Regions from separate parts of the Homo sapiens genome. Here regions 2, 3, 4, 5 and 6 are each linked to region 1. The links are contacts of gene promoters, found by promoter capture Hi-C in blood cells and fetal thymus (Javierre and others, 2016). All regions are on one chromosome and are shown on one strand. Each heading gives the region's core, a stretch centred on a gene start or on the middle of the fragment in contact. The rest is flanking DNA. Distances are from core to core; before and after follow the strand shown. Region 1 holds the start of CD302 (CD302 molecule). Region 2 holds the start of TANC1 (tetratricopeptide repeat, ankyrin repeat and coiled-coil containing 1). Region 3 overlaps TANC1 (tetratricopeptide repeat, ankyrin repeat and coiled-coil containing 1). Region 4 overlaps TANC1 (tetratricopeptide repeat, ankyrin repeat and coiled-coil containing 1). Region 5 overlaps WDSUB1 (WD repeat, sterile alpha motif and U-box domain containing 1). Region 6 overlaps WDSUB1 (WD repeat, sterile alpha motif and U-box domain containing 1).

Region 1 (3,538 bases), core at 268-2,767:
TTAATTTTGGTACTGAGTAACATTTCATTGTTTGGATGTGCCATTGTTTATCCATTCACTTATTGAAGGACATCTTGTTTGCCTCTAGGTTCTGGCAATTATGAATAAAGCTGCTATCAACATTCATGTGCAGGTTTTTGTGTGTATGTAAGTTTTTAACTCATTTGGATAAATACCAAGGAGTTGTGATTGCTAGATGGTATGGTAAGAGTACGTTTAGTTTTGGAAGAAGCTTCCAAATTGTCTTCCAAAGTGGCTGTACCATTTTGCATTTGCACCAGCATTGAATGAGAGTTCTTTTTGCTCCACATCTTTGCCAGCATGTGGTCTTGTCAGTGTTTTTGGATTCTGGTATCTAATAGGTATGTAGTGGTATTTCATTTTTGTTTTCATATACAATTCAGCAATGACATATGATGTTGAGCATCTTTTCATCTATTTGCCATTATATAACTTCTTTGATGACGTGTGTATTCAGATCATCTGACCATTTTTTTTAACTGGGTCATTTGTTTTCACGTTGTTGAGTTTAGACTTGATTTTATAGAACTCTTTTGCCAATGACATGAGGCTTAAACAAGCACCCTTGCTTGACCCTGGCTAGTGTTGTCCAGAGGCCCTCATGGGTGAAGTATAATTGCACAGTTTATGCATACATTGTAGCAAACATAGCTTAAAGACTCTTCATCCAGGAGCTGGTAACAGAGAAAAGTTGTCTAAGAGACATAGTCCACTGAAAGGGGTCTTTGAAAAGGAGGATTCTGGCCAGTAGATCCAAAGAAGAAGGCTGGCAAACGCCACCTTAACCAACTGATCCAAGTTAACATCAGTGATGAGACATCGACATCTTGTCCTTCTCGAGCACGTACATCACTTCTGGGGAACTCTTTCCCAAAAAAGCGCAACCTGAATCCAATTAGAAGGAAATGTCAGACAAAATGAAACTGAGGGACATTCTACAAAACGACTGGCCAGTACTTTTTAAATGTGGTTTGATCGTGAAAGAAAAAGAATGACAGAGAACCGTCCTAGATTAAAGGGAGACTAAGGAGACACGACATGCAATGTATGATCCTGGATTGAATCTTGGAACAGAAAAGGACCCTTAGAGGGGCAATTAATGAAATGTGGTAAGTGCTGTAGATTAGCTAATCGCATTATCCCAGTGCGAGTGCCCTGTGTTTGATCACTGCACTGGCGTTATATACAATGTCAATATTTAGAGAAGCTGGCTGAAGGGTTACGGAAATCTCTTGTGCTGTTTTTGCAACATTTTCGAAAGTCCTAAATTATTTCAATTCAAATGAAAAGTTTAAAAAACAAAAATTAGAAGTTCCAGAAGGCCGCGCGCCAGCCGCTCCTGCGGGACGGGACACCCGGGTTCTCCTGGTGGGAGCCCCCAGTGCCGTTCACGTTCCGCCCGGGGGGGGGATTAAACTCGCACGCGAGAAGCACCGCCCCCGCTCCCGCCCCGCCCCGCTCCTCTCCGGCCGCGCAGCCGCTGCCGCCCACCCGCACCCGCCGTCATGCTCCGGGCCGCGCTGCCCGCGCTCCTGCTGCCGTTGCTGGGCCTCGCCGCTGCTGCCGTCGCGGGTAAGCCCTTACGTAGTCCCTCGCCGGGACCGTGCGCGACCGCCTTCGCCCCCTTCCCAACGCACGCTCTTCGTCCCCGCGCACCCGAGGGCGGCCCGCAGACGCAACACCCGGCCGGCCATCCCGCCCTTCCCTGCACGCCCGTCCCCCGTGGGTCCTGGCTCCGGGTCACCTCTCACCCGCCTGCCCTCGGGGAGGGGAGGTGGCCGAGAATAAGGGAGGGCTCTGTCTTCCTCGGAGTCCACATCCTCACCGCAGACCCCACTCCGCGGGGAGGGAACCCCCAAATTAGGCCAGTTGGCCGGAGAACTGAGGGACTTGGAGTCGCACGACGGGCGCCGTTTCAGGGCAATTTCGGGCTGAAATGAGAAGCGGGGACGTTGGTGGCGATTTCCCCTGCTGGTGCGCGGCCGGAGTGGGGTTGCTGGGATGGGGGTGGGGGCCGGAGGAAGTAGGCCCTCTTTTGCAAGCAGCGCTGTTTGTCTAGTTGGTTGGTGTTCAAGTTGTTTAAACAGGAAAACAGTTCAGCCAAATAACCCCTGGATGGAAGAGGAACGGGAATAGGCAAAGCTTGGATTTCACTGAAATCAAGGAGTTTTAAAGTTCTAGTCTGCTGTTGTGCAAGTGACATCTGAAAAATCACACACGTGATCATTCATTTACAAAACGACTCGTGAGGAAAATGCACAATTCTATTGACCGTGGTCTTTATTTTTAAAAAATTTCCATACAAGCATGTCAAAAATATGTGGATGGGGAGACTCTGGAGAACACAGACTTCCAAAAACACCACTGACTGAATAATTCCAGGAATTAAAGAGCAAAATAAACAAGAACTAAATGAGTACTTGTGTGGGCTTAAATAAAGTGCAAGAGATTTAAATAAAATGCAAGAGATTCCCCCCCCCCACCCCTTGCCCCAGATTTCACTGCGTTTTTATAATAACTGCCTGCTCGAAGTCTACTGACAGGAATATTTCAGTGGACCTCAGTGTTGGAGGCAGCAGCAGCTCAGAACTTGGATACAAACCCAAGGTTCCTTTCTTGAAAACTTCTGTGGACCTGCATTTATGACTGGTTGTGACATCTGCTGCCTATCAAAGGGGCAGAAACAAGATGTGCCCATGTTCACATTGTTCAGACTGGGAACATTAATTTTGTCTAAGACAAAGCTGGGCTGTCTCTGAACCCTCCTTCTGCACACCCTCATTTTGCGAGCCAGTAACATCTCAACTCTCATGTAAACCACCCTCTGCGAGGCTGTGCATTTGTACTTTAGGCTAGTCGAATTTTCTTGTCAGATTTTTCTTTCTTGTCAGACTTTTAAAGAAAATCAGTTTCTAGATTTTGGTATGTCTCTTCTTCAGTGAAGCTGTTTTGACCAGCAATAGAGGGCAAATTTCCCTTTGGAAATTTTTGTGCATTTCCTTTGATAAGTCCAGTGTGGATCAATAGGCTTTTCAAGAGCTTTAGAAAAGTGCATGATGAATAAATTAATGTTAATTAATCAGCTCCTCCCAGTCAGGAAGCTTTAAGGATTAATTTGGAAATGAGTGTGAGCTTTGACCTAGCTAGTTAACCAACTTATCTGCACTTCAGTAAAACAGAGATAATACTTACTCATGGGGCTATTGGGAGCATTAAGTGGGAACTCCACGTCTAGTCCCTATTACAGGCGTGGTTCATCTTGGTTTCCTTCCCTTTATTCTCTTCATACAAAATGAAGGGTAATTGTTGCAACCAGAAAACGTATGAATACCACCTTATGTATATTGGATGTTTATGGTTACTGAACACATTCATATGTATGCTAATGTTATAGGGCTGAAAAACTAAGTGTGTTTTTCATAATACTTTACAAATCTCCCATCCAAGCAAGATCAGGGGTCATATTTGGCTTAGAACTAAGTCAAGAAAGAGTTTGTTGCTGAATACCAAGATCTTA
Region 2 (3,538 bases), core at 698-3,197, 830 kb after region 1:
TAACACTCACCAAGCATTCTGGCTGACACAAACTGCAGAAACTGGCATACTCTAGGGAAGGTCCCTTGTGAGGTCTTTAAGTAGCTTAGATGAGTAAAACACTCAGACTACTTCTATAATGAAGTAGTCTCAGCCGCTCATAAACTCCTTCATTCCCAGCAATCAAGAAGCAGCTGTTAAAATCCTGGAATCTTCCTAGTAGCAGATCTGAAATACCTCCAGGCTGACCCAGGAAGCTTCACAACTGCTTTCCTCTCCTTCCCCTCCCCTGCCTCAGGAGTGCCAGCCTGGCAGGAATAAAGATGACCAAGGAAGGAAAAAAGAGGGTAGCGGATCTGGTGAAAGCAGAGACGCAGACTCCCTTCATTTCCACTACAGAGAAATACCAGCCCTCTGTGCCAACTAACCAGGTTTCTCCTTTCCTCTCCCACCCCCACCCCTCCAAACACGCATTAACTTCTGCAGTCTGGTGTGTCTGGCATTTCCAGAGCGAGCGATCTCAGCAATCTTGAGCCCTTTCCTCAAAGATTCTGAACCAGGAACTTCCTTTCCGCGCCAGCCAGAGTTTGCGGTCCAACCCACGTTAAGACTCAGCTTCCATTTACCTTGTAACCTGTACGGACGACGCTGCTTCTGGGGTCAAGTTCAAGATGAAAGTTCCCTCCTCACCTCCCAAGTTAACTCCAGCAGGGAACAACGCCACTGAGAACGGTCCCAACACTGGAGGCACGCGGATCTGGAGCTGGCAGGAGGGGGCTGGGAGAAGGCCGTTGCCGAGCCTGGCGTCCTCCGCCCCTTGGCCGCAGCGCCGCGTTTCTACCTGGCCAACGCCACATTTCCTCCCGGAGCTTTACACAATAAGTCCAGTAAGTTTTGAGAACACCGGTCCAGGGACCTTTCTGTCTGCAAACACACCACACAATGCCTAGAGCTTCCTTCCCAGCCAGGCGTTCCGGAAAGCCGCCGCGCCAAAGCCGGGAGCCCCGCACACCCACAGCGCTGCGCGCCCGCACCCCAAAGTCCTCCAGGAAGCCAGTGCCCTGATATCGTCCCCCGAAAATGACCACTCTGCATCCAAGAACAAGGGGGCTCACAATCTTGACAATTACCGCTCTTCTCAGCGCCCCACCCCTAAAGAAAAACCCCCAACGTCTAATCCTAACTCACCCCCACCCCCAATAAAGGAGTGTGGATATGCTAATCGCAGTGTTCTTGGAAGCAAAGCAATAGACTTTCAGCCCAGACTGGGGCAATACCATGCCTCCGGCTTAAGTTCTCTCGGCAACTTCGCGACCCGCGCACCCCAACACTCCGGGGGGCGCCCAGGACCCCGCGGTGCCAGGCGCGCCTCCCCCCGCCTCCCCCGCGCCAGGTACCAGGCGTAGCCCAGGCCCTTGCCAAGCCCGAGGGCTACAGAGAAGGCGGGAAAGGGGGCGAGCGGGCGCGCCGGGCGGGGGTGGTCCCAGAACTCGAGCGTGCCCCAAGCGTTCCCGGTTCCCACCACACCGGTTCCAGGGGAGGCCGGCTCGGTCCGGCGCGGGGGAACCGCGCAAGGAAGGTGCGGACTCCCCAAAGCCGCCGAGAGACCAAGGCCCGGGGCGCCCAACATGTCTGTGCCTATTCCCGGAAAGCTCCCGGGTGTGCCCGGCGGAGGAGGGGGCGCTCCAGAAACTTTCCCACACGCCTTTCCCTTCTCCCATCACCCTCTCCACCCCGGGTCCCTCTCGACCTCTCCGCACACTGGCAGCTGGCCATGCCCGGGGCGCTCGCAGGCCCGCGGCGGAGTCCGGGCTGCGGGAGTTACCTGCCGGGAAAGTTTCCAGCTCCTCAGCGCGGTTCCCCACACCCAGGGCCGGGCCTCGGGGCGAGGCCAGCTCGGCGCTCCGCGGCTGCCTCTCCTCCGGCTCCCGAGGCGGCCGCCGCTCCAGCAGCTGCCACAGCAAAGCCTCCGCTCCGGCCCGTCCCCCCGCCTTGCTCGGCCCACACCGGGGCCTCATTGGCAGCGCGAATCCCCGCCCTTGCGCGTGTTCCCGAAGGCACCTTCCTCTCGCGCGCCCGCCCCGGCCGCGCCTCCCGCGCCCCTCCCCGCCCCGGGCTGCGGCGGATCCAGGGACCGGCTGGAGCGCGGAGCGCGAACTTTCCGCGGGGCTTGGGCGCGAGGTCCCCTTGTCCCGCCTCTCGGCGCCAGGTCCGGGCCTGAAGCACCCTACCATCCCTCTGGGCACCGGGTCCCCCGGGGCTGCGCCTAGGCCCCTCTGGGACCAAAATGAGATGGGCCATAGTCTTTTTTACAGCCTCTTCAAAATCAATAAAGCGACCCGGCCTTCCCTCCTCGCTGCTTTTTTACCACAGCCGAGGAGGACATATGGGAGCAATTAACCGAGCTGGAGTTTCCGTGGACGCTTTGGGGTGGCTTGTGCGGCTTTCTTGGATTTTCTCTGCCTCACTTAACTACACACAAACACAAACACACTTTCTGGGGCCAGAATCAGCTAAATGAGCTGGAAGGTCTAAGAAGGCATCTCACCGGCTGCGTCTTTTTATTTCCCAAAAGGAATGGGGGACGTTCTGGGGCCGGTGATTTCCCGGGCGTCCCTGGGGCCGCGGGTCTGGAGCCTCCTGCGACCGCTCCGGGCTGGCCCGTGCTGTCTGCGCTACATTCACAGAGGGCCAGCGTCGTGCTTCTGTCGGAAGGAGGTGGGAGGGACGGAGGGGAGAGAACACACAAAGATGCTATTATTTTGTCGGTTGGTGGCAGTAAATTAAACTCCTGAGTTCCCAAAATGTTTTGTTATTCTCCAGCAGAGCAAAAACCAGGATAGGGACTAGGGATTCGGGTGTCCTGGGTTCTCCAAGATCCTCCCAGGAATCCCAGGCAGCCAAATTGGCCTAAGGGACTCTGCTCACTTAATACCCGAAGCTCTCTAAGACAGCCTTCGTTGATCTAGTTGACGAAGGAAGGATCAACTAGAACTGCCGCTGCCTTGTGTGGCCAGCGGGAATTGTGCACGGGTCACCCCATTGGTGTGTCTGGAGCAGAGAATAGAGAAGTTGCTGTAAACCGATTTATTGGTAACCCCTAACCTTGCTGTGGCAAACCCGCCTTAAAATACGATTGTGTTTTAAACAAGTTTCCTCATAAAAACTTCAACCTCACGCAGAGCTTCCCTATATAAAGACACCAGCAGGAGGGGTGTCCATATTTAAAGTTCTTATGAAAAGGGACAGGAAGCAAAATGCCACACAATCTCTTTTCATAAATTAAAAAGACTGAAATGGACTGGATTTTTCACCCATAGTTTCAAAGGCCTGATTACTGCTGTGTTGATATTTGAGCAGTAAACACATCAGCGGCCTTGAAGTATTCCCGAAACAAGGCAGGATAGAATATTGAAAATAAAAATACAAACTTAAACCAGAAAACTATTGACTTCTTTCTCCATCTGAAATGTTTCATTGCTGAAAAATATGGTAATGTTTTATTTAATTTATCTTGAAACGAAATCTTTCAACAGACAAAAAAGCCAGACAGCAACCT
Region 3 (3,538 bases), core at 487-2,986, 640 kb after region 1:
AATAAACAGTAATGAATTTTCTAAGGCTTAAAACAAAAACCGAGAGGAGAGTTTTTATACTTTCTTCTCTTATATACAAAGAGCCTGACAGTCCAAATAATCGATTTAAAGAATTCCAGAGCAGAAGGATCACTTAAAGACCATTAAGTACAGCCTTATTGTGTTTACAGATTAGTAAACTGAGGCTTAGAAAAGGTAAGTGCCTGACCCACGGCCACGAAGCTGGCTTGTATCTGGAGTGTCTTCCCATGTGAAGACAGTGAACACAGGGCACCTTGGTATCCCTGAGATAATCCTTCCAGGGAAAGGTGTGGCCTTACCTGCAACTGAGTTGGGCCGTGGCATTATTAGTGAGCTGGAGCCCTGAGAATAAGGGACTGGACCATCTCCAGCTGAGGATTCTGCTTTGGGCAGCGTGCTCTCTGCTGACCCGGTGGTCTCCTCTTCTGCCACTGGGGAGCAGTTATCTGCCCTGCGGTCATGAAGCACTCCCTTCTGAACCCCTAATCTTAGGTTTCCATCTTTATTCCATTCCAAACTGGAGCCACTCCGGTCATCATTTTCGGATGAACTTGTAATTGTGGCTGAAATGAAAGACCAAAATACTTTGAAGGAGGCCAGGCACAGCTGGGGCTGAAGAATTAAAACATGCACACTGCCCTCCCCAGGATCAATGGAAAGTTTTCCAGTCCACACAGATTTTTATCAAAGTATGTTCCATACAATGTATTTTGGTAAATTAGAAGAATGTGGCTTACCAGGGGAAATAAGCTGCTAAATCACTCTACAGAGAAGAGGAGCGAGGGAGAAACTCTGATAGGAAGATAATGAAAAAAATTGTCTAAAAAGTATCAGAGTTAAGAGTAAAATTATGTAACCTGGAGATAATGTATCCTCTTTTTAACAAAGATTACTCACAAAAGAATTCATTTCTCATTAAATTCCTTTGAACCTTTAAATATACTTTCCAAATTAAAAACATTTGCTGGGGGTGGGGGAGTGGGAACAAACAACAGAATGGTTAATGCAGAAACGGTGCAGGAGAAAATCTTTAGAAACAAAAATACAATTATAAAGTCAAACAGAGAATTTGACCCTTAAAGCTTATAACATCTATTCAAGATGATCCAGAGAGACTGACTTATTATTTCCTCAGCAACACGAAATGGAAAACCTTCCCATATCCAGCGCAGGTGAAGTACCAGCAGGAGAAGGTATACTATGACTGCAGAATTCACATTTAATCTCCAAGAAAGAAAACCAGCACAGAAAAAAGGTACAAAAAACCTTTTGTAAACATCTTGGCAAAAGAGCAGAAAGAACATGGTCAAAAAGCGAAGCAATACTCACCCTACATAGCTTCTACAAAGAGTCACTTCTAATTTAAAGATGCTGAGCCATATGGGATCCCCTTGCAACCACAGGTCATCATCACCTGGGCCACTCACACTGCCCCACTGTTAGAACTAACGCTGGCTGCGTCCTTGAGAACAGGGGCCATGTCCACCGATGCCTCTTTCCCTATCTGGATTCCAGTCACCTAGGCCCTCAACTCCACGCCTGTTAAATGGGAGTGCACAGGGCCAAAGTGCATTCAGAACCCAGCTCCTGGATCAGGCTGCTTTAGCCACACACCAAGATGATACACACTGTATCAGAAGGCTGGTAAATTAGCTCAGGGTCAGTTATTTAGGATCAAAGGGTCTGAAGGGTTTAGCTTTGTTTATATTCTTTACGGTTTAGAAGTAAAGACAAAACTATTTCCTTGCAGTGGCCCAGGACATCCTGTCACAATTCTGACTGTCTTTACTCCTCCTGCTGCTGCAGCCTGGACTTATCACCCTCTCTGGTTGCCTATTTTAAAAAATCCCACATAAATGCTGAAGCCTTCCCTAGAGTATCCATGGCTATCTTTTCCTTTTCTGAATAGCACAGCACAGCACATAGTAAGTGCTCAATAAATGCTTGCTAATTGAATGAATGAGCAAATGAATAAACTTCAATTCCATTTGTGGTCAGAGACACTACACTTAATCTCACTTACCAGAGTTCAGGATCTGATTTTGGGTGCCCATCGTTATGATTCCCAGCATTTGCCAGTGTTCCATCAGCAGTATTAAACCATACCTCCACCTCTTTGGAATCAATCACAGCCTTCCTTGTGTTTTTAAATAGACCATTTATATGAACATAGGCATAGCAAGTATGACTCTTTCTATCATAAAAATGCCAATGGTGGTGTTGACAGCAGAAGCTAGCATTTACTGAAGGTTTGCTATATGCTAGAAGTGTGCTAATGTTTTTCAGGAGTGGTCTAATTTATTGATAAGATTATTGCTTATTAATGGTAATCCTGTTAATAAGCTTGAAGCATAAAAATGGGGGCCATCCCATAACACAGATTGTGGTGTTACAAACCTTCACATTTAAATCCAGCATTTGCAACTCAAAATGCTTTTCTCAGACATATTGTAATAAGTTAGGTTCACAGGCTACTCCAACATCCAAGTGACAGGAAGAGTTCCAGGCTAGGGAGATAGGGGATTTGTTTGGTTTTATTTTTGTGGCTGTTACATTGGAAAGCACGTATTTGTAAATTGAAAAATTAAACCAAAAGTCAAAGTGCTCTCCCTAAGTGCCAAGCACTTCTGAATCAAACCCCAAAGATCTGAGTCCTAACTAGGACCTCAAGCAGGGGAAATAAGGACTTAGCTCACTTCCTGTTACAAGTGACAGCACTGCAATCAGGACCTCAGGGACCCATGGAGCAGCTGAGGATGGCTGGGAAGGCCAGGTCAGAGCTCCTGATGGCAGGACAGGTGGAAGGTGTGGCTCTCACTGGCAGACATGTGCCCTACACTGTGCCCAGCATCTCGTGGAGGGGGAGAGGGGGCGGAGGGGTAACACTCAGGTCCTGGCAGGGAGAGGAAGGAAAAGGGGTGGGGGAGGAAGGGCTCAGCTGCAGGAGCAGTCACTGCGAAGAGAAGTCCCAGATGGGGTAACCATTTAGAAATGAACATATTGTAAGGTCAGTGTTTATATGAAGGAGACTAGTGAGGAAGAAGAGGCAGCCCTTCTGCTGCCCTCACAAAGTTCCTGTGAGAGAGGCATTCCACGGTCCACATGTCCCAGGGTTCTCAGAGGCAGGGAGGCTGGAAAATCTGAAGCCACTCCATTGACACTCCTTCCTGGGATTCAATATCAGATGTAGCCTACACAGGTGGAAGCCCAGACACTCTCATCTTGGCTCAGCTCCATCCGAGCCCTGAGGCAGATCCAGCTGAGCAGATGAAGGCCAAATCAGTCTGGCTTCCCTGCATAACCTAAGAACAACACCAAACATGGCAGCCCCGGAGTCCCCAAGAAGAGAAAGCTGGTTCTTCCAATAAACGACATCTTTCTTTCTTCCAACCTTACAGAAATTCAAACTCCTAATCAGGTTAACCCAGTCAATCACTCTCAAAAATGCTTGTGGGTACACGTACACATCAAGGGCAGCATCTTAACTGTGATGACTTAAAAAAAAAAAATCTCTAAA
Region 4 (3,538 bases), core at 426-2,925, 580 kb after region 1:
GTACAATGGAGCAATATTCATCCTTACAAAGGAAGGAAATGCTATTCTAACACACGCTACAACATGGGTGAACCTGGAGAACATTATGCTATGTGAAATAAGCCAGTCACAATGAGACAAATACTATATGATTCTACTTACATGAGATATCTAAAGGGGTAAAAAAACTCACAAAGTAGAGTGGTGGCTGTGATGGGCTGGGGGAGATGGAGAGTTGTTTAACAAATACAGTTTCACCTTTGCAAGATGAAAAGTTCTGGATACTGGTTGTACAACAATGTGAATATACTTAAACTACTGAACTCTATATGTTTAGAAATGATTAAGGGTAAATTTTATGCTATGTGTTTTTGCCACGGTATTAAAAAAATTATGTTGGAATGCTAAGCTCCTTCACTCTTCTCTAATTTTGATAAACTACACAATGTGGGAAGGTAGCTGAAAAATAAGTGTAGACATGTGAGATTTAGTTGAGTATGTTTTTGAAAACTGACATGAAGTAGAGTTTACAAGGTACTGAAGTTTATACCATTGAACTCTGACAGCGCTGCCTTCTAAAAGCACCAAGGCACAGAGGTACAGGGCCATGGCTTCCACTGCCAGGTTTGCAAGCATCTGTCTCTCCAGCTAGTCCTTCCATTAGATGTATTGAATTATTGGAAACTGGTAACTCTCATGTAGCTGACCATTTCTCTGGCACCTGCTGGGTGCCTGGGACATGGAGCCTGATAAAATCAGTTTCTGCCCTGAAAGACATTTCACGGTTCTCAGTTTATCAAGGTTTTATTCCCTCAAACCTCGATTAGACATGGGCATTTGGCAAAGAGATAAAGATAGTGCCCAAAGCTTTCCATATTATTTTTAGGCAATGCCATATCACTTTAAAAACAACCAGTATATGTACATGATGAAATACTATGCAGGCTTTAAAATAAGGAAATCCTGTCATTAGCCACAACATGGATGAAGCTGAAGGACATTATGGCTAAGTGAAATAAGCCAGGCACGGAAAGACAGCATGATCTCACTTATATGTGGAATCTAAACAAGTTGAACTCACAACAGAAGCAGAGAACAGAAAGAGGCTGGGAGACAGGGGGACCTGCGGAAAGGGTAGGCACCGGTCAAAGGGTACGAAGATTCAGTTAGACAGGAGGAGTAACTTCTGGTATCTACTGCACAGTACTGCAACTAGAATTAATAACTTTTATTTATTATTTTTTTGAGACTGAGTCTCACTCTGTTGCCCAGGCTGGAGTGCAATGGTATGATCTTGGCTCACTGCAGCCTCCACCTCCCGGGTTCAAGTGATTCTCGTGCCTCACCCTTCTGAGTAGCTGGGATTACAGGCACCCGCCACCACGCCCAGCTAATTTTTGTATTTTTAGTAGATACTAAAATAGTATCTACTAGTTCACTTGATCTCGAACTCCTGACCTCAAGTTCGCTTAATCTCGAACTCCTGACCTCAAGTGATCTGCCCATCTTGGCCTCCCAAAGTGCCGGGATTACAGGCATGAGCCACCGCACCCGGCCAGTAATGTATTCTTTATTTCAAAATAGCTAAAAGAGATCTCAAATGCTCTCACCAAAAAGAAATACTATTTGGGTGATGGATACATGAATTAGCCTGATTTGATCATTCCACAATGTGTACAAGTATCAAAACATCACTGTACCCCATAAATATACACAATCATTTGTCAATTAAAAATAAAACTTTGTCCGGGCATGGTGGCTCATGCCTGTAATCCTACCATTTTCAGAAGCCAAGGTGGGGTGATCACTTGAGCCCAGGAGTTCGAGACCAGCCTGGGCAACATGGTGAAAAACCGTGTCTCTAAAAATTAGCCAGGTACGGTGGTGCATGCCTGTATTCCCAGCTACTCAGGGGGCTGAGGTGGGAGGACCTCTTGAGACCAGGAGAACAAGGCTGCAGTCATCACACCACTGCACTCCAGCCTGGGCAACAGAGCAAGACTGTGTCTCAAAAATTAATAATAAGCCAGGTGCAGGGGCTTACGCCTGTAATCCCAGCACTTTGGGAGGCTGAGGCAGGCGGATCATGAGGTCAGGAGTTCAAGACCAGCCTGGCCAACATGGTGAAACCCTGTCTCTACTAAAAATACAAAAATTAGGCATGGTGGTGCATGCCTGTAATCCCAGCTACTCAGGAGGCTGAGGCAGGAGAACTGCTTGAACCCAGGAGGCGGAAGTTGCAGTGAGCCGAGATCGCACCACTGCACTCCAGCCTGGGCAACAGAGCAAGACTCCATCTTGGGAAAAAAAAATTAATAAATTAAAAACAAAACAACTTAAAAAAAAAAAGCAACCAGGTAGTCATTTGATTAGTCACTTACCATATATAAAAGTAGTTTCTAAATGATCTATGCAAAAGTTTTATTTATATGGATGACTGAGAAAATCACATATGCACATGTGTATGCATATTCACGTATGTGTCTGTTGTATGTGCTATTTGCAAGCAGGTATTTTTAAGCTTTTAAGAGTCGACTAAAATCTTAAGTCCTGGAATAGACTGCATGTCACAGAATTAGAGAAAAATGAAAGATCCCTGACAAGACACACACACACACACACACACACACACACACACACACACACACTCTCTGATGACACTGAGACACAACCTCATGCAGGCCCTGGATTGAGCTGTTCACTTCCTGGGGTTTCTTTCCAATGCAGGTGGAGGTGGGGAACACCTGCTGGTACTCACAGTCTCGGCATCGCCATAGAAGGCAGCCAGGTCCAAGGGTGTGCGGCCATTCTTGTCTGTCTGGTCTATTGCAGCTCCTTCTTCAACCAGATACTGGACCACTGCCCTGTGACCTTTCAGACAAGCCCAGCTTAATGCTGACAGACCCTCTTTGTCTAGAGAAGAAAGGGCTGCACCTGAAAGGAAAGCCCATTCACAGAACATGAACATTATGAGATGACAAAGCCAGAAAGCAAATTGTTTCACACCTGCGGAACACCCGGCCTGAACCAAGTGTCAGTCAAGCACTGTGAAGGGTGACACTGGCCGGATGGGCTGGCAGAATGGTCATCGCTGCTGAAGAGGAATACCAGGCATGTGGCTGTGTTGCCTATTCTCTCTACTGTTTATTAGAAAATTTCCATTAACAGAAAACTTAGAATTTGAATCAGAAAGCACTGAATGGGTCTGCTGAAGTTCTCTCTGTGTCCGTCCAAAAGAAACCTTTGAGGGCATCACGCTGCTACCTTTTGAAAGGAGGAATTCCACGGTGCTCAAGTGCCCTTCACAAGCAGCCACCATGAGGGGCGTCCGGCCTTGCTTGTCACTTAGGTTCACATCACAGCCGCGTTCCAACAGCAGTCTAACAATCTGGAAGAGACATTTGGAATTACCATCCTCCTGCTGCATTTTCCACCACACCTGCTATACCCAGGCAGGTTTCTCAACCTTTAAAAATAGTCAAATGACTTTCTTTCAAAAATCTGTAAGTTGTGTGAACCATGGGGCCTGGAAAATCTTTCCACTGTATTCCTTTGAACA
Region 5 (3,538 bases), core at 615-3,114, 540 kb after region 1:
ACGGGTTTCTCTTGTATTCTTGAGTGAGCAGAGCTGAGGTTTTAGAGCACCACAAAACTGTAGGAATGGAGTATCAAAAGGTTGAATACCTGCCTCATGAGGAAACTGGGGGAAAGATGACAGGGCAGATTGTGGCAGAATGTATGTACTGAAAATTTGGGGGAGGAACTATAGCAGGAAGAAAATACATAACCAGGGACACCAAACAGTTGGATTTTTTGTTTAGTGGTTGTTGATTTGGCTTCAATTTAGGGAATATTTTGAGGGTTTTTATTGCTTCAGTAGTTTCAAACTATTTTGTGTCTATGTAAGTTGGCTTTTATTCTCCTGATCTCTCAAACTCAAATCTCAAAATATTGAAAACTTCTGTTATTTTTCCCTAACCCTAATTTACCTTCCTCAAAATCTAATGAATTATCAAATCCTATTGCATCTTCCTTGGAATCATCATTAGTTAAACTAAAGGCAATAGGAAGTGAGTTTAAAATCCTTTCTTCCAGAGCCTGCAGGTCTGTTCATGTGTTTATAATTTTCGTTTTTTGTTTTTTTTTCCATGGATTCAGTGGTCTCCTACTGGTTTATTCATGTTTGGCCTTGCGCTTCTCAAATTCCTTTTTATACCTCATCAGCAAGTGAACTTATTCCACTGCCCTCATGGCTAGCTGTGGCCTGTGAAATCGTCCAGATTCCTTGGGCAGACACTCAGGGTGCTTTGTATTTTTGTTCGGGGCTGTGTTTTCAGCCTTACTGCTTGCCGTTCCCATATGTGGACTCTTGCCTGTCGCACTGATTTCTGTCTTCCCAATCCAATGCTCATAGAGATCACTAAGGATAATCCTGCTTATTAAGTGATGAGTTGGTTTGAATTGTCTCTGGTGGTAGTCTAGGAAAGTGGGATTTCTTTTTAATTTTGGGGTTTTGTTTTTGATTTGTGGTACCAATGAGGATTTTATTTGAGACAGTGTAATGGGGGCCAGATGAGAGAACCATTTTCTTTGTAAGCTTAGCATGGCTGGGCTCTAGCCAGCTCCAGATGAAATTTTGGCTAATTATCCCTTTAGAAAAGTCAGGCTTAAGCAGAACTGGGCTCTAGGTCAATTAACCAAAAGCCAGTTCACCCAATGACCAGTTCATTTATTTAAAAAAAAAAAAAAAAAAAAAAAAAAAAAAAAATATATATATATATATATATATATATATATATATATATATATATATATATGAGTTTCAGTTGACCAGTTTTCCTTTCATCTCATCATATAATCTTGAAAAGTAATATTTAACATGCTCCTGACCCCCAGCCATGTAGCTATAGCTGGAGACCTGGTTTTCTTAGCTGTTATGAAAGTATTTTTGTGTGTGTGTGGATACTTTTTCAAATTGATGTCCCTGTGAGGGGACAAGCATGGGAAGTTATACTCTGCCATCTTGCTGACATCACTCTTTAGTTGTGTGTGTGTTTTAAGGATGCTCAAAATAGCAGAATTTGGCCTAAGAATTTCAGATATTTCACAAATAAGAACTTGTACCTTGAAGAACTTAGGATTAAATAAAAGTGTCTGTAAATTATGTCCATCACATACATACTCACGTAGTGTTAGCTGTCAATACTATTTCTCACTGTATTTTGGATGCAGTTTAACATTGAAAGCTATAATTCTTTTTGCATCTGGAATGCATTACAGTTATCCGTTGGTATCTGCAGGGGATTGGGTCCAGGACTGCTACCTTGGATACCAAAACCTGTGGATGCTCAAGTCCCTTATATAAAATGGTGTGATATTTGCATGTAACCTACACACATTATCCATATACTTTAAATCATCTCTAGATTACTTATAATACCTAATACAATGTAAGGGCTATGTAAATAGTTTTGCAGTATTTTTATTTGTATTATTTTTTGTTATTTTTTTCCTATTTCAATTTATTATGTTTTTCTTGAATATTTTGATTCATGGTTGAATTCACAGATAGGAAACCTGTGGATATGGAGGGCTGACAGTATATGCTTCCCAAGTTCTTGTGTTTTATTTTATATCTTTGAACTTTTAAAGTATAATTTCTATTTTGAACTTATGACAAAGATTCTGTAGTCAGTATCCATCATCAACATTGGAGGGTCTACTGAACAAGGAATTTTAAGCTAATAGGTGTGAATCCTGTGGTCAGACTGTGATCAGCTCCCTTAATAAGTACAAATATTAATGTTCTGCAGAGTGTGGTACCACTTGTATTGCAGATGTTTTTTCACCTTGTAGTGTATATTGTTCTGGCATAAAAGCCTGTTTCCAAGGGGGGTAGAAATGCCAGATAGAGGCATATTTATCCATTGTTTTAAATTACTCATTTTGTTATAATGTTGTATTTTTGTGTGTGTGATGTTCTTTTTCTTTGCTAGCATAACCCCAGATGTCTGCTTTTAATTTTTATACCATTACAAGGAATCATGTAGTCAACATCAAGTTTAGAATTATAATTTTCAAAAATGGATCATAATCAAAACATATATACATTGATTAGCATTTAAGGCACGCCTTATCAATGGTAAAGAATAGTGCTATCTGAAACAAAACCAAGTAGCAAATAATAGCTTTTCCTTGTGGTTTTTCCCATTCAGTTACTAACTTGTTATAGAGTCGTGTTTTATTTATATATCAGAGATGCTTGTTCTGTTCATGGTCATGTAGCGTAAATAGTATATACTATTGTTTTAATAAAGCTTATAATTTTCTAAATTTTATATATGGCATGTTGTTTTTTTTGAGATAGAGTCTCACTTTGCCACCCAGGCTGGAGTACAGTGGCATGATCTTGGCTCATTGTAACCTCCACCTCCCAGGTTCAGGCCATCCTCTTGCCTCAGCTTACCAAGGAGATGGGATTACAGGTGCACGCCACCATGCCCGGATAATTTTTTTCTGTATTTTTAGTAGACATGGGTTTCACCATGTTGGCCAGGCTGGTCTCAAACTCCTGACCTCATGATCCGCTCGAATCAACCTCCCAAAGTGCTGGGATTACAGGCGTGAGCCGCTGCGCCTGGCCACGTGTAGTTTTTTGAATTAAAGTTTTCATGCATATGAACAAAAGGATTGCATTCTAAATGTATGTTAATATCTGTCTTTTCTAGAAAAGTTACTAAAATTACTTAAAAATACTAATTACATAAATGCTGTACTTTGTTTTTATAGAACTTTTCACCTATAATTTATTTTCTTTTAAGGTCAGTGGATAAGTCTGTCATAGTATATGATACTGTAAGTATTTAAAAATCTTGTGGTGATCTATGAAAGTTATGTTTATTAGACTACTGAACTTCAAGTTAGGCCTGGTAGAAAAAGTATATATTTTTTCTGTTTAGTATGACTAAGAACATAAATATTTTCACAAATGCTAAAATAGTTACGCAAGTAAGATATTGGTTCTGCAACAAGCCCTTAAATATTTCAGTAATGATTTTAAGATGGATAGATTTTAAATGTGATCATAAACTATACATATTTAAAGAGCACCAGTGTTCAAAACATCACATACA
Region 6 (3,538 bases), core at 549-3,048, 520 kb after region 1:
GCGGAGCTTGCAGTGAGCCGAGATCACACCACTGTACTCCAGCCTGGGTGACAGACCGAGTCTCCGTCTCAAAAAAAAAAAAATTTTTTTTAACTGGCCTTCTAAAGGTCAAAAACCCAGAGAGTTGTTTAATATGATTCTTATAGTAGATTTGCTTAGCGCCAATCTTAAAATTAAGAGTTAATCTTGTTAGACTTTTATGGTTTTTTTTTTAATTGTAAGAGTTAAAGCAGTATTTTGAAGGTTCAGTAATTTTAGGCTTTATTTTTGTCACTTGTGGTTTAAGTGTTTTCTTTCTTTTTTGAGACAGAGTTTCACTCTTGTTGCCCAGGCTGGAGTGCAGTGGTGGGATCTCAGTTCACTGAAACCTCCACCTCCCAGGTTCAAGCGATTCTCCTGCCTCGGCCTCCCGAGTTGCTGGGATTACAGACTCCTGCCACCATGCCCAGCCAGTTTTTTGTATTTTTAGTAGAGACTGGGTTTCCCCATGTTGGCCAGGCTGCTCTTGAACTCCTGACCTCATGTGATCCACCCGCTTCAGCTGGCTTCCCAAAGGGCTGGGATTACAGGTATGAGCCACTGCGCCCGGCCCATAGTATGTAAAGCTTTAATAGTATGTAAAGCTCAGCTAAGAGATGCAGTTATTTCTGTGACTGCAATTCTTGCTGGATGAATGACCAAGCCCAGAAGAAGGAACCTCATGCCTGGTGTGGTGGTGATGTGTTATCATTTCTTAAAAACTCGCCTGAAAAACTCTTTTGGAAAAAACCAATTAATTTACATTGGTAATGTTGTATTGCAATTTAACAACATTAAAACTATTCACATTTATTTATATTGTGGCAAAATATACGTAACAGAAGTTATCATTTTTATTAGCTAGGCGTGGTGGCGTGTGCCTGTAGTCCTCGCTACTCCAGAGGCTGAGGTCAGAGGATCGCCTGAACCCAGGTGTTTGAGGCTGCAGTGTGCTAGGATTGCACTACTGTACCCCAGCCTGAGTGACTGAGTGACCCTGTCTCAAAAAAAAAAGTTAAAATTTTCACGCTAACACTTTTAGATGACATTAAGTACATTAGAAACCATGCGCTTTTAAGTAATTACCAATTAAAAGAGCCTAGTGTACCTCCCCCTCCTTCTGTCTCCCAACATCTTTTAGAGCACAAATGCTAGTTGGTCAACAACTATTGCTCATTTAAGCTTAGGTCTTTGGGTTGAAGAGGGTGACATGTTTTAAGTGGTGTTAATAAACACTTATGCCAAATATCTTTTTTATATGCATGAAATCCAGCTGTCAACTAGGAATCTTACTTATCCAATGATGACTTCTGGCTCTATAGCATAACTATCCCTAAACTATGTAATTAATTATATATAAATGATAGATACCCTGCTGGATGGGACAGTGTGTTAATTGTTGGGTTTTTAACAGCTTATTTTTCCTAATTGAGCAAATACTAATACTTCAGCACCGTGCCTCCCTGTCTTCCTAACGTAATTTTAACTTGCCCACAGCATTTTCCTTTCATAAATAATTTATATTTGAAGACCTCGCCATTGCTTCTGGGTAATTTTTTTTTTTTTTTTTTTGAGACGGAGTCTCGCTCTGTCGCCCAGGCTGGAGTGCAGTGGCGGGATCTCGGCTCACTGCAAGCTCCGCCTCCCGGGTTCACGCCATTCTCCTGCCTCAGCCTCCCAAGTAGCTGGGACTACAGGCGCCCGCCACTACGCCCGGCTAATTTTTTGTATTTTTAGTAGAGACGGGGTTTCACCGTTTTAGCCGGGATGGTCTCGATCTCCTGACCTCGTGATCCGCCCGCCTCGGCCTCCCAAAGTGCTGGGATTACAGGCGTGAGCCACCGCGCCCGGCCACTTCTGGGTAATTTTTAATACAGACGTTGTAAGTACCTTTGACTCCAATAACATATTTTCCAATAAAAATAGTTTTATCTTACCTTTTTTAAAAAATATGGCTGTAGTTGATGTTGCTTGTCATTGCTTTTCTGGTTAAGTTTTACATATTTTAATGTGTTTATACTGATTTGCCCTGTGGAAAAATATGAAGATATGTGGACTTTGGTTTGTAATTTAGGCTTGAACATACCAGTTAAAATGTTTAAGGGAGGATATTTAAATCCTCCCTTGCTTTTAGACAGTATATCTCAGTTCATAGCATATAAATGATATTTTATTTCTGTAGGCATCAGTTGTCCTTTCTCTCTAGTTCTGTGATAGCCATTTATTCTCTTTTCACTGTATCAAGCTGCTGTTAGAGACTGTGGTATAAAGTAAAGGATACTCTGAAATGAAAACCCACTTTTTGCTTTTATTTCAGATGTGGTAGTGTTAAAGATGGCTCCTTGGCGGCATGTGCATTTTCTCCTAATGGAAGCTTCTTTGTCACTGGCTCCTCATGTGGTGATTTAACAGTGTGGGATGATAAAATGAGGTGTCTGCATAGTGAAAAAGCACATGATCTTGGAATTACCTGCTGCGATTTTTCTTCACAGCCAGTTTCTGGTTGGTTATTTTATTCTTTTAAGCACTAGAAATTCCTATTTGTAATTTGTGCTGTATATGACTTTTCATTCTTTTATTCTTTTTTATGTTATCATTAGTAGAGTGAGGAGCCCTCTTAATTTATTCCTGTAAAGGGATTATCCTTCTCTCTTTTTTGACCAAAAATGAAATCATGAAAAAATATATGAGAAAATTGCATTCTTTTTTTTTGGTCTTGGAGTTTCCTGCAAGAAAATTACATTCTTTATTATATGCAGGGGGTGGCTCAAATTGGTACAACAGATTCAGATTCCTTGGATATGGCAATTTAGAGGACCTAACCCTATTGATACAATTGCAATTAAAAGAACACTATATTGATATTCAAGTAGAAATGTAAACTTTAAAAATTGGAAATAGAAGCTGTGTTTTCCATTTACTAATTTAATCTTCGAAAAGCTAAATTTATAAAATGTTTGCCAACACAATTAGTTTTTTAGAAATAAACAGAACTCCTGAATGTAGTCTCTTGGTTTTAAATAGGTACAGTGATTTGGAAAGTTCTTTCTTTAGAGTTTTCATTTTCCGTGTTAGTGGATGGGAGTTCTGTAGCTTTTGTCCCCCTGCAGTCTTGTTACCAGACCAGTGCTATCCATAACAACGTAATGCAAGCCACTTAGGAAAATTTAAAATGTAGTAGTAGATGAAATTAATTAATAATATATCCTGATATATCTACAATGTAGTTTCAATAATTGATAATAAAAATTATTAATAAGATTTTATCTTTCGTACTAAGTCTTTGAAATCTGGTATGTATATTACAGATAGTACATTTCAATTTGGACTAGCTGCATTTCAAGTCTTTGATACCCACATATGGCCAGTCACTGCCCTATTGGACAAAACAGGTCCAAAGAGTAGACAGAAAGGTTTTGGTATTTCCCCCCTTTTCAAGCCCATCAGTGGCTTGTTAAGATATGATTAAGATCTCAAATCCCAAAAGCAAAACATGTTCTGCTTCCCCCTAATCTCAAAT

The links. The method cuts DNA at HindIII sites, captures the fragments that hold promoters and counts their contacts. A CHiCAGO score of 5 or more calls a contact.
Region 2: a contact is called between the fragment with the promoter of TANC1 here and the fragment with the promoter of CD302 in region 1, in 1 of 17 cell types (megakaryocytes). The highest score is 5.8, in megakaryocytes.
Region 3: a fragment that was not itself captured here is called in contact with the fragment with the promoter of CD302 in region 1 in 1 of 17 cell types (megakaryocytes); the score reaches 5.2 in megakaryocytes.
Region 4: a fragment that was not itself captured here is called in contact with the fragment with the promoter of CD302 in region 1 in 1 of 17 cell types (erythroblasts); the score reaches 6.2 in erythroblasts.
Region 5: a fragment that was not itself captured here is called in contact with the fragment with the promoter of CD302 in region 1 in 1 of 17 cell types (erythroblasts); the score reaches 5.2 in erythroblasts.
Region 6: a fragment that was not itself captured here is called in contact with the fragment with the promoter of CD302 in region 1 in 4 of 17 cell types (endothelial precursors, total B cells, monocytes and 1 more); the score reaches 6.4 in endothelial precursors.

What each region holds. Positions count from the first base shown.
Region 1 is chr2:159,796,187-159,799,724 of GRCh38, reverse strand. It overlaps CD302 (CD302 molecule), which reads left to right and starts at 1,517. Exons shown (of 6, transcript NM_014880.5): 1 at 1,517-1,593. The coding sequence starts at 1,527. All of the region lies in intron 33 of LY75-CD302 (LY75-CD302 readthrough), which reads left to right. It overlaps LOC124906083 (a long non-coding RNA gene), which reads right to left. Exons shown (of 2, transcript XR_007087273.1): 1 at 1,773-3,538; 2 at 1-906. The HindIII fragment of the contact is 1,931 bases long and covers 235-2,165 here.
Region 2 is chr2:158,967,049-158,970,586 of GRCh38, reverse strand. It overlaps TANC1 (tetratricopeptide repeat, ankyrin repeat and coiled-coil containing 1), which reads right to left and starts at 1,947. Exons shown (of 27, transcript NM_033394.3): 1 at 1,805-1,947. RefSeq lists silencers at 1,912-1,991, 2,052-2,161. The HindIII fragment of the contact is 11,476 bases long and covers 239-3,538 here.
Region 3 is chr2:159,160,329-159,163,866 of GRCh38, reverse strand. It overlaps TANC1 (tetratricopeptide repeat, ankyrin repeat and coiled-coil containing 1), which reads right to left. Exons shown (of 27, transcript NM_033394.3): 8 at 321-584. Among named protein-coding and RNA genes, the nearest start is that of MIR6888, 25 kb to the left of the region's middle. The HindIII fragment of the contact is 1,261 bases long and covers 1,106-2,366 here.
Region 4 is chr2:159,219,067-159,222,604 of GRCh38, reverse strand. TANC1 (tetratricopeptide repeat, ankyrin repeat and coiled-coil containing 1) reads right to left here. Exons shown (of 27, transcript NM_033394.3): 21 at 3,244-3,367; 22 at 2,738-2,913. Among named protein-coding and RNA genes, the nearest start is that of MIR6888, 34 kb to the right of the region's middle. The HindIII fragment of the contact is 1,654 bases long and covers 849-2,502 here.
Region 5 is chr2:159,259,532-159,263,069 of GRCh38, reverse strand. It overlaps WDSUB1 (WD repeat, sterile alpha motif and U-box domain containing 1), which reads left to right. Exons shown (of 11, transcript NM_001128212.3): 6 at 3,227-3,260. Among named protein-coding and RNA genes, the nearest start is that of WDSUB1, 25 kb to the left of the region's middle. The HindIII fragment of the contact is 1,720 bases long and covers 1,005-2,724 here.
Region 6 is chr2:159,278,743-159,282,280 of GRCh38, reverse strand. It overlaps WDSUB1 (WD repeat, sterile alpha motif and U-box domain containing 1), which reads left to right. Exons shown (of 11, transcript NM_001128212.3): 3 at 2,336-2,520. Among named protein-coding and RNA genes, the nearest start is that of WDSUB1, 6.2 kb to the left of the region's middle. RefSeq lists an enhancer at 2,070-2,239. The HindIII fragment of the contact is 1,192 bases long and covers 1,203-2,394 here.